Linked DNA regions of Homo sapiens: all the other regions are linked to region 3. The links are contacts of gene promoters, found by promoter capture Hi-C in human tissues and cell types (Jung and others, 2019). All regions are on one chromosome and are shown on one strand. Each heading gives the region's core, a stretch centred on a gene start or on the middle of the fragment in contact. The rest is flanking DNA. Distances are from core to core; before and after follow the strand shown. Region 1 overlaps LOC107987064 (a long non-coding RNA gene). Region 2 has its middle 78 kb from the start of ALDH1B1. Region 3 holds the start of SHB (SH2 domain containing adaptor protein B).

What was found. The method cuts DNA at HindIII sites, captures the fragments that hold promoters and counts their contacts. A contact is called where the count stands out against the background at its distance.
Region 1: a contact is called between a fragment that was not itself captured here and the fragment with the promoter of SHB in region 3, in 2 of the 25 tissues and cell types used here (bladder and lymphoblastoid cells).
Region 2: a contact is called between a fragment that was not itself captured here and the fragment with the promoter of SHB in region 3, in 1 of the 25 tissues and cell types used here (lymphoblastoid cells).

Annotation. Positions count from the first base shown.
Region 1 is chr9:38,205,080-38,208,206 of GRCh38, forward strand. All of the region lies in intron 1 of LOC107987064 (a long non-coding RNA gene), which reads right to left. Among named protein-coding and RNA genes, the nearest start is that of SHB, 140 kb to the left of the region's middle. The HindIII fragment of the contact is 5,159 bases long and covers 1-3,127 here.
Region 2 is chr9:38,312,982-38,316,122 of GRCh38, forward strand. No RefSeq gene overlaps it. Among named protein-coding and RNA genes, the nearest start is that of ALDH1B1, 78 kb to the right of the region's middle. The HindIII fragment of the contact is 4,682 bases long and covers 1-3,141 here.
Region 3 is chr9:38,067,696-38,070,891 of GRCh38, forward strand. It overlaps SHB (SH2 domain containing adaptor protein B), which reads right to left and starts at 1,532. Exons shown (of 6, transcript NM_003028.3): 1 at 234-1,532. The coding sequence starts at 950. RefSeq lists an enhancer at 1-772 and silencers at 663-712, 1,133-1,942. The HindIII fragment of the contact is 6,868 bases long and covers 1-3,196 here.

The sequences.
Region 1 (3,127 bases), core at 495-2,994, 140 kb after region 3:
TGGGCCTGACCTCATGAAAGAGCTTATATTTAATCTTTTGATGTTATCTCCTGTCTTTACCCATTTTTGTGTTGCTATAAAGGAATACCTGAGGCTTGGTAATTTATTTTAAAAAGAGGTTAATTTGGCTCATGGTTCTGCAGGATGTACAAGAAACATCGTGCTTCCTTCCCCCTCTCTGGTTTCCTCTCTAGCCAGGTGATATCTGCACACTCAGGCTCCCCTCTACCTTCTGCCATGAGAAAACCTGAAGCCCTCACCAGAAGCAGATGCTGCTGCCCTGTGTGGGCAGAGATCACATGGTGGGGCAGGAGGTACCAGTCTCTTTTTAACAACCAGTTCTCCAGGAAACTAATACAGCAAGAACTCACTCATTACCATGAGGATGGCACCAAGTCATTCATGAGGAATCTGCCCTCATAACTCAAACACCTCCCACTAGGCCCCACCTCCAACACTAGGGATCAAATTGCAACATGAGATTTTGAGGGGTCAAACAGATAGAACTATAGCACCTCCAAAGGAAGTTATATGTCCCATCAGAGAGGTACATTCACCAGATCAAAGTAGGAAATGTTCACCAAAGTAACATTTGCATCCCATTACTGAACCACACCATTTGTAGTACCTTATAAATTAATATGCTTTTAAAATACATACTGGAATTATCTTGTGATTAGCAATATCTCATTGCCTTCTTTTTTTATATTGAAAGTGCTCATTTGATAAATGTAAAGATTTAAAATACAGGCATGCACCACATAACAACATTTGGTCAATGAAGGACTGCATGCTTGATGGTGGTCTCGCAAGATTATAATACTGTATTTTTACTGTACCTTTTCTATGTTTAGATATGCAAATACTTACCACTCTGTTACAGTTGCCTGCAGTGTTCAGTACAGTCACATGCTGTACAGGTTTGTAGCCTAGGCGCAATAGGCTATACCATATAGCCTAGGCACATAGTTCTGCCATCTATGTTTATGTAAGTACACTCTATGATGTTCACACAACAACAAAATCACCTAAGGATGAATTTCTCAGAACATATCCCACACCGTTAAGCGATGCATGACTGACTGTATATCACAATTTTGGTAATTGTTTCTTCATATCTTCATTTATCAGTATGTTAGGCACCTTAAAAATTGGAAGTGGCCCAGGCTTCTCTCAGCCTCTGAGAGGCCCCACTCGTCTAGGACTATGTTTGCAAACCTACACAGTAGCTGTGTGACCTTGGGCAAGTTACTTAAACTGTCTCCCTAGCTTCAGTTTCCTCATGTACTCATTTACAAAATGGTGAAAATAACTCTATTTTGCAGGGTTTCAAAGATGAGTTAATGTGATGTAAGTGAAGTACCTAACAGTTTTAGATACACAAGTTTCTCAGTATACAGTAAGTAGATGCCCAGTAATTGGTAGCAGTTGTCATAATTTTTTCTGGTGTATTTCTAGCTGTTTTGATCCAGAAAACTTTTTTTTTTTTTTTTTTTTTTTTTTTGAGATGGAGTTCCGCTCTTGTTGCCGAGGCTGGAGTGCAATGGCATGATCTTGGCTCACCGCAACCTCTGCCTCCCGGGTTCAAGCGATTCTCCTGCCTCAGCCTCCTGAGTAGCTGGGATTACAGGCATGCACCACCATGCCTGGCTAATTTTGTATTTTTAGTAGAGATGGGGTTTCTCCATGTTGGTCAGGCTGGTCTAGAACTCCCGACCTCAGGTGATCTGCCTGCTTTGGACTTCCAAAGTGCTGGGATTACAGGCATGAGCCACCATGCCTGGCTAATTTTGTATTTTTAGTAGAGATGGGGTTTCTCCATGTTGGTCAGGCTGGTCTAGAACTCCCGACCTCAGGTGATCTGCCTGCTTTGGACTTCCAAAGTGCTGGGATTACAGGCATGAGCCACTGCACCTGGCCTTTTTATTTTATTATTATTTTTTTGAGACAAGATCTGACTGTCACCTAGGCTGGAGTGCAGTGGTGCAATCTCTGCTTACTGCAACCTCTGCCTCCCGGGCACAACCCATCCTCCCACTTCAGCCTCCCAAGTAGCTGGGACCACAGGTATGCATCACCAAGCCTGGCTAATTTTTGTATTTGTGTGTATGTGTGTAGGGATGAGGTTTGGCCATGTTGCCCAGGCCAGTCTTGAACTCCTGAGTTCAAGTGATCTGCCTGCCTCAGCCTCCCAAAGTGCTGGAATTATAGGTGTGAGCCAATGCACCTGGCCTGATCCAGAATACTCCGATATCAGTTACCTTTTGCTGTGTAACAAATCACTCTAAAACTTAGTAGCTTAAAATAACAACCATGTATTTACTTCAAGATTCTGTAGGTTGGCTGTTTAGGCTGGGCTCAGCTGGCAGGTTTTCTGAACTCAGCTAGAATTCCTCTTGCTTTTGTAGCTAGATGTGGGGCAGCTGCAGTTTGGTTTTGCTAGTTTGGGCTGAGCTCTTGTGTATGTTTAAGGTCTTGGCTGGGACAACTGGCCTGACTCATGAACTCTCATCCGCTGGCAGCTTAGCCTGGGTTTGTTCACATCATGAAGACAAGGGTCCCAAGAAAGCAGGTGGCGGTGTGCAAGGCCTCTTGAGGCTTGGGCTTGGAACTAGTACAGTGTCACCTCTGCCACATTCTATTGGCCAAAACTAGTCACAGACTCAAGACTTGAGGACACCACTTTTGATAGGAAGAGTTACAAAGTCACATCTGCAAAGTAGCAGAGACACAGAAAGGGAAGTAACTGTGGTCATTTCTGCAAACAATCTACCACAATTCCCCCTTTGTAAACAAAAAACAGCGCCTTTAATTTATTCCCTGGGTGCCCCAGTGAGCAAGTGGGGATAAATTGTGTTCTTTTCCACTCTCTGGTTCAAGCCTATTTTTAGATCTGGTCTAATAAAATGAATTTCACACCTGGGTTACTCACCCACTAACAAACACTTTGTTCTTATTGATGCCTAGGACAAATGCCGAGGCAGCCTAGATTTGTAGTTCCTTTACCTCTGAGTACAATAATTGTTAATTATTTGCTTTATTTGGTTCTGTTGCATTTGCCAATAGTCAATTACCTATGTTAGGTTTTCTTGTGATCAGTGGGGCTTATCCAATATTGCAGCTCAGG
Region 2 (3,141 bases), core at 418-2,917, 250 kb after region 3:
GTGGTGGCGCATGCCTGTAATGCCAGCTACTTGGGAGGCTGAGGCAGGAGAATCACTTGAACCCGGGAGGCAGAGGCTGCAGTGAGCCGAGATTGTGCCACTGCATGAGAGAGTGACAGTGTTGCAACAGTGAGAGAGACTCTGTTGCAAAAAAAAAAAATTTTAATAAAAATAAAAAACTGCCTCACAAAACTGAATGCCCAGGACGGGGAAGGTGTTGCTGAGCAGACGCCCTGTGGAAAGGCCAAGGGTGTTACTCAGCCATGGACACAGTGAAAGTGGGTGCCACCCACAACCATTCCCAAAGCTTGGCTCTATAAATCCTGGACCCCTGAGCCATCAATTTGAACACCCATGTATTTATGCCAAAGCATCCTTCCCTTTTCCAGCTGAGCTACAATACGAATTCAAGACTCCTGGCCATCTCCATATACCCTCTGCTTCAGAGACATTATTAAGCTACTTATAATTAGGAATAATAACGCCTGCAGATGCATTTTAATACAACCCACAAAAGGAGCTGTGTGGGTTTCTTCGTTCCCCAGCACGAAAGCAAACAACTCTTCCCCTGTTGTCTAGATCCAACTGCTTCACTTTCCAACAGCTGCTCTGACAGATGAGGGACAGGCAGAAGGTCAGAGTGAGCTGACCGACTTCCAGGCACAAAGGACAAAAGGATCTGAAATGTGGAGGGACTCATTGGAGGTCCCCGGCAGCTGGCTGAATTGTCTGGCTCTACACAGTGGGGAAACCGTGAGAAAGAGGGAGATGTCTCCTTTCAAACCTGGGCACTGGAACTTTCCTGGCTCTGACATCATCTTTTTTCTTCTTCTTTTTTAGTTTTATTTTACTTTAAGTTCTGGGATACATGTGCTGAATGTGCAGGTTTGTTACATAGGTATACATGTGCCATGGTGGTTTGCTGCACCCATCAAGCCATCATCTAGGTTTTAAGCCCCATATGCATTAGGTATTTGTCCTAATGCTCTCCCTCCCCTTGCTCTCTAACCCCCAACAGACCCCGATGTGTGATGTTCCCCTCCCGGTATCCATGTGTTCTCGTTGTTCAACTCCCACTTATGAGTGAGAACATGTGGTGTTTGGTTTTCTGTTCCTGTGTTAGTTTGCTGAGGATGATGGTTTCCAGCTTCATCCATGTCCCTGCAAAGGACCTGAACTCATTCTTTTTTATGGCTGCATAGTATTCCATGGTATATATGTGCCACATTTTCTTTATCCAGGATTATAAATCATTCTACTATAAAGACACATGCATACATATGTTTATTGCAGCACTTTTTGCTTTTTTACAATCAGCCTGCCAGAGGCTGGTCCACAGATTGTGGAAGCAGAAAGTGACCTTCCTCTCATCTGGTCCAACTCCCTCATTTTGGAAACTGAGGCTTGGAATGAGGAAGAGATTTGGCTTCAAATGTCAGTAGCCAAAGACTGGGCCCAAGGTAATTGAAATATAAATAATGCAATGATCATCTGCCCTCCCAGCATTCCCTCACGACAGCACCCAACTCTAGCTTTTGATGAAGGAGCCAAGACCCAGAGAGGTGGCATCATTTACCCCAATGGCATCGTATGACCAGCACAATGAAGGAAACCAAAGGGGTATTGTGACTTTTCCTCCCTCTTTCCCCTCCTTCTTTTGTTCTCTCCCTTCCCTTTCCTTCCCTTCCCATCTCTTCCTTCCTTCTCCATTTTCCTTCCCTCCCTCCAAACTTGTCTTTCTCTCTTCCTTTCTTTCTCTTCTCCTTCCTTCTTTCCTTTCTCCCTTTATTAAAAAAAAAAAAAGGTGTTCTTTTTCCATCCCACAGATTGGATGAAAAAAAAAGTTTAATGCATTTCAAAAATATTCATGCTCAAGGATCGTTCAAGACATCTGGACCTTTTAAAAAGTTGTTACAATTTTAATAAATAGGATGTATTTTAAAATATGTGAAAAAGACATTCCATTTAGTTAAGATCAGAAACTCGTTAAATTGCCTTTAAGATCATTTCTCTATTATATTTTTAACCAAGGTAAATTTCTAAGGGTTTTCGTTATATTATTTCCATATCGTTCTCCATAATCACATACATTTGATGCTTTCTAAAGCCTTCATAAATATCACTGAAAATATTTGTCCCTTTTTGTATTCTAAGTATAGCCCACATTCAGCAGACTTGTAGCAAACACACATTTAGGCAAGAGGATGAGGAGTGAGGAAACTAGATCCTGATGTCAGACAACTGAGCTGAAACTGGATTCCGGGACTGAGTGTGTGCCAGACCTCATCCAGGTGTGCAAATATGGAGGTATGCCTGGTCGCCACTCCAAGAGGCTTGCAAACTAAAGGCTCTAGGGACACGTGAATAAAAGGAGGAAGCAAGTATCCCAGGTGCTGTGAATCTCTCGAGAAGGGTAAGGGGCTGCTGAGGCAGGTCAGTTCCACTGGCGGCAGCCGGAGTGCAGCCAGAAGGAAACGCTCAGAGGTCCATGCAGGAGTTTTGCCAGAACCTTAAAACAAGTAGGCATCGGAAAAGGGCAGTGCAGGCAGCAGGAGCCACACAGTGGAAGGCTTAGTGGTATTGAAGAGCGTCCTGTGTCTAGGAGATAGCATGTGTCTCCCGTACAGGACTGGAGCCTAAGATACAGGCACAGGGAAAGGGATGAAGCATGGGGAGACTGAAACACTGATATTACGCACCTGAGCTGACACTCGATGCCAGCACTCAGATTCCCTGGCCATTCTGTTTTTTTAGCGAATCAAAATGTCCTGATCAATGTGCACCCTATTTCCCTGTGATCTGCACCCCCAGGGGCCTCCAAGGAGCAGATGGTGAGGATGGGTCAGTACTAAACCCCCGCCTGACCTGGCAGGTCCAGTGCCAACCACCAGGCTGCCAGTCAACGAGCAGGTCCCTACTCCTCTCTGGACTTCCGTGACCCCATCGGAATAGTGTAAGGCTCTTTTCAAAACCTGTCAGCTCTGACAGTCTCAGCTCCAGGATTCAAAAGTCAATGCAGGCCAGGCGCTGTGGCTCACACCTGTAATCCTAGCACTTTGGGAGGCTGAGGTGGGCAGATCACTTGAGAAAAGGAGGTTGAGACCAGCCTGGGCAACATGGCAAGACCTTGTCTCTATTAAA
Region 3 (3,196 bases), core at 282-2,781:
TCGCTCAGAGGGGACGTTCTGGAAGCAGCGGCGAAAGAGGTGGGGTCAGGAGGCCGCCGGTCCCAGGAAAAGGGCGCGGGAGGAGGCAGAAGCGGGAAGCAGCACGCCAGCCCCGACCCAGGGTCCTAGGCCGAAGCTGAAGTAGAGACTCAACACCAGAGCGGCGGGTGCCTCGGTTTCCCCGTGCGCACCGTGGCTCTGGAACCTCGGGAAGAGGCCAAGGGGCACCTTACCTTGTCCTTCTTGCCGGCCCCGCTCTCCTCCGCGGCTGAGGCGGCGCACTTGTTGAGCAGTTTCTTGCCTCCGCAGGCCGTCGGGCTCCAGGTGCGGCCGCCCGCGCAGGCGCCCCCCAGGGGGTCCCCGGCCCCACCGCCCGCGGCGCTCTCCACTTTGATGAGGCGGTGCTTGGGGGAGATGTAGCGCACCTCGGCCGGCGTGGCGGGCCGCCGCTCGCTGCTGCTGCGGTAGAGATGCGGAGAGCCGGAGGACGAGGACGAGGACGCGGCGGCCCCCGCGCCCGAGGAGGCGCAGCAACAGCCCGCGGCGCCCGACGCGGACGAGGCCGAGAAGGCGCGCTGGACCCCGCCTGGCTCCCCGCTGCCGCCGCAGTAGTCCAGGCGGCACATGGCGCGCAGTTTGCGCAGCGACGAGCCAGGCCCGTTGTAGGGGTCCTCGAAGTCTCGCTCCTTCTGCGCGCGGTAGGCGCGGATGAGGTCGCTGGTGCTGCCGCTGTCGTCGGGCAGCGAGCCCGAAGAGGCTGAGAAGCAGGAGGCGGTGGCCGGACCGCAGGACGCCGAGGCGGCGGAGGAGGCCTGCGGCACGGCCTGGGGGGGCTGCGAAGGCCGCTCGCCTCGGCGCCGCTGCTCGCGGTAGTCTGGCCGCGGCGGCTGCGGGGGGCTCTTGGTCTTGCTGTTGCCCAAGCTGAAGTACTTGTTTAGCCACTTGGCCATGGCGAGAGGCCGCCTAGGGCCGCGGCGCGGGAGCCCGGTCCGCCGCCGCGGCCATTCGGGGGGCAGCGCTGCGGCGCAGGTCCCTCGGCGCCCCGGCCCCGGCGGGGGGCGTCCGGGGCGCCCGCTCCCGACGCCAAGTTCAAGTTCTTGCCGCCGCCGCCTCCTGCCGGCAGCTCTCTGGCTCCGGCGGCTGCAACACCTCCCTCCGCCTAGCGCCGCCCAAGCTAGGAATCTCGCGCCCCTCGTGGGCGCGTCTCATGGGGTCCCGGCCCACGCCCGGGGGAGAGCGGAAGGTCCGAGCGCTCCACGCCGCGGACCCTTTGGCCGTACGCCCCTCGCCGTGGATCGCGCTCCTGCCCCGTCGGAGCCGCAGCCTCCGCCTTGGCCGGGATCCGCGGCTGCCGCGGGAACTTCTCGGCGTCCTCGGCTCCCTTCTTCCTTCCTGCGAGCGCTGGGGAGAGCTCGGCCCCGCAGCGGAGGAGAATGCGGCCGGGAGAGACAGCGAGCGACGGAGGAAGGCAGCCGGCGCCCGCCGGAGCCCGCGCGCCCGTGCCCGTCCCGGCGGCGCCTGTCGCTGCCACTGCCGCCGCCTCCCGAGCCGCCGCGTGTGTGACACTCAGGCCGCCAGAGCCCGCCCCGCGCCGCCGCCCCGCCCCCCCGGAGCCCGCTCGCGCGCCCCGCCCCCCGCCCGCTCCCGCAGACCCAGCACCGCCCATCCCCGCGAGCCTGGCCCCGGGCCGCGGCCCAAGCCCCGCCCCCCTCGCGCCCGGGGCCGGGGTGGGCGCACCTCTCCGCTCCTGCACACGCCACCTCCCGCGGCTGCCCTGGCGCCAGCACCAGGGTCTTGCCCCAGGGCGCTGGGGTCCCGCCGCGCAGCCGGCTCCACCTAGCTTGCAGCTCGCCGCCGCCTCGGGCGAGAGGTTGCCTGGCGGAGCCTGCTACGCGCAGAGGCCAAACCTTTCCGCAGTCCCCCGGGACCCCGCGCGTTGTTCACTCCAGGGATCCCCCTGTCGGGGTTGAGGAGGGAGAGTGGATTAACACGGAACCTGTCTAGTTTACAGCGTGGCCCGTGTGGAGGAAATGCAGTGCCTAGTGCCCTTAGGGACAGAGTGGCTGTCCCTCTTCCTTAAAGGGACAGACTCCGGTTCAGCCCCGTGCGCCAGGTCTTCGGAGGAATCTTTATGCTAATGAGTGTATTAGCAGTCCAGATGACGGATGTGGTCGGGATAGGCGGTGGGAGCCGGGCCCAGCACCAATCCGAGAGCAAGGCTAGGGGAGGTCGGAATGTTTGCTTACCTTTTCACCTCTGAGGAAGTCGAGGCTTTAGCCCTGTTCGCTGCCAGCCGGCGGGGAGCAAGTTGTGGGAACATTTAATGCCTTATGTTGTAGGAGCTGGCAAGGATCCATTTAATACAGGACCTCGGCCGGGTGCGGTGTCTCACGCCTGTAATCCCAGCACTTTGGGAGGCCGAGGCGGGTGGATCACGAGGTCAGGAGTTTAATACCAGCCTGGCCAAGATGGTGAAACCCCGTCTCTACTAAAAATACAAAAATTAGCCGGGTGTGGTGGCGGGTACCTGTAATCCCAGCAGCTACTCGGAAGGCTGAGGCAGAGAATTGCTTGAACCTGGGAGGCAGAGGTTGCAGTGAGCCGAGATCACACCACTTCACTCCAGCCTGGGCGACAGAGGGAGATTCCGTCTCAAAAAATAAATACAGGACCTCATTTTACAGATGGAGAAACTGAGGCCCAGAGGAAAGTCACACAGGTGGACTTGGATGCCAGTTCCTAAGTCGGGTGGCACCATAATTATGTCTTTTCCAAGAGTCTCTTCTTTGCGATTTCAGATCATCCTTTGATTATTAACCAAAATTGAGGAAACAGTCCCAGGGAGTGGCCTGATTTGGTCAGTGTAACTTTTCCTGGGATCTGCACCCAGGGGAGGTGGCATGCTCCCTGTTGAGAGGGAAATGCTGCCTAAAGATGAAGTAGCTGCCACTAGGGCCTGGTGCTGCTTTGAATTTGCCTGGGCAACCCTCAAAATGTGACTTAACTCTAAGATGTGGGCACCTGAGAGCTGAGAAATTCTCTAAGAATGTTGATTTACTAAAACAATAGCCCAAATCAATAATCTGCATTTGCTGTCTGTCTGTTATAGATGTGCTTTGGGGGAGTCTGTTTTTCCCATATCCTGTAGTAACAGTGGGAACTGTGAGGGCAGACAGCAAGGCCAGGGGCTCTTTTG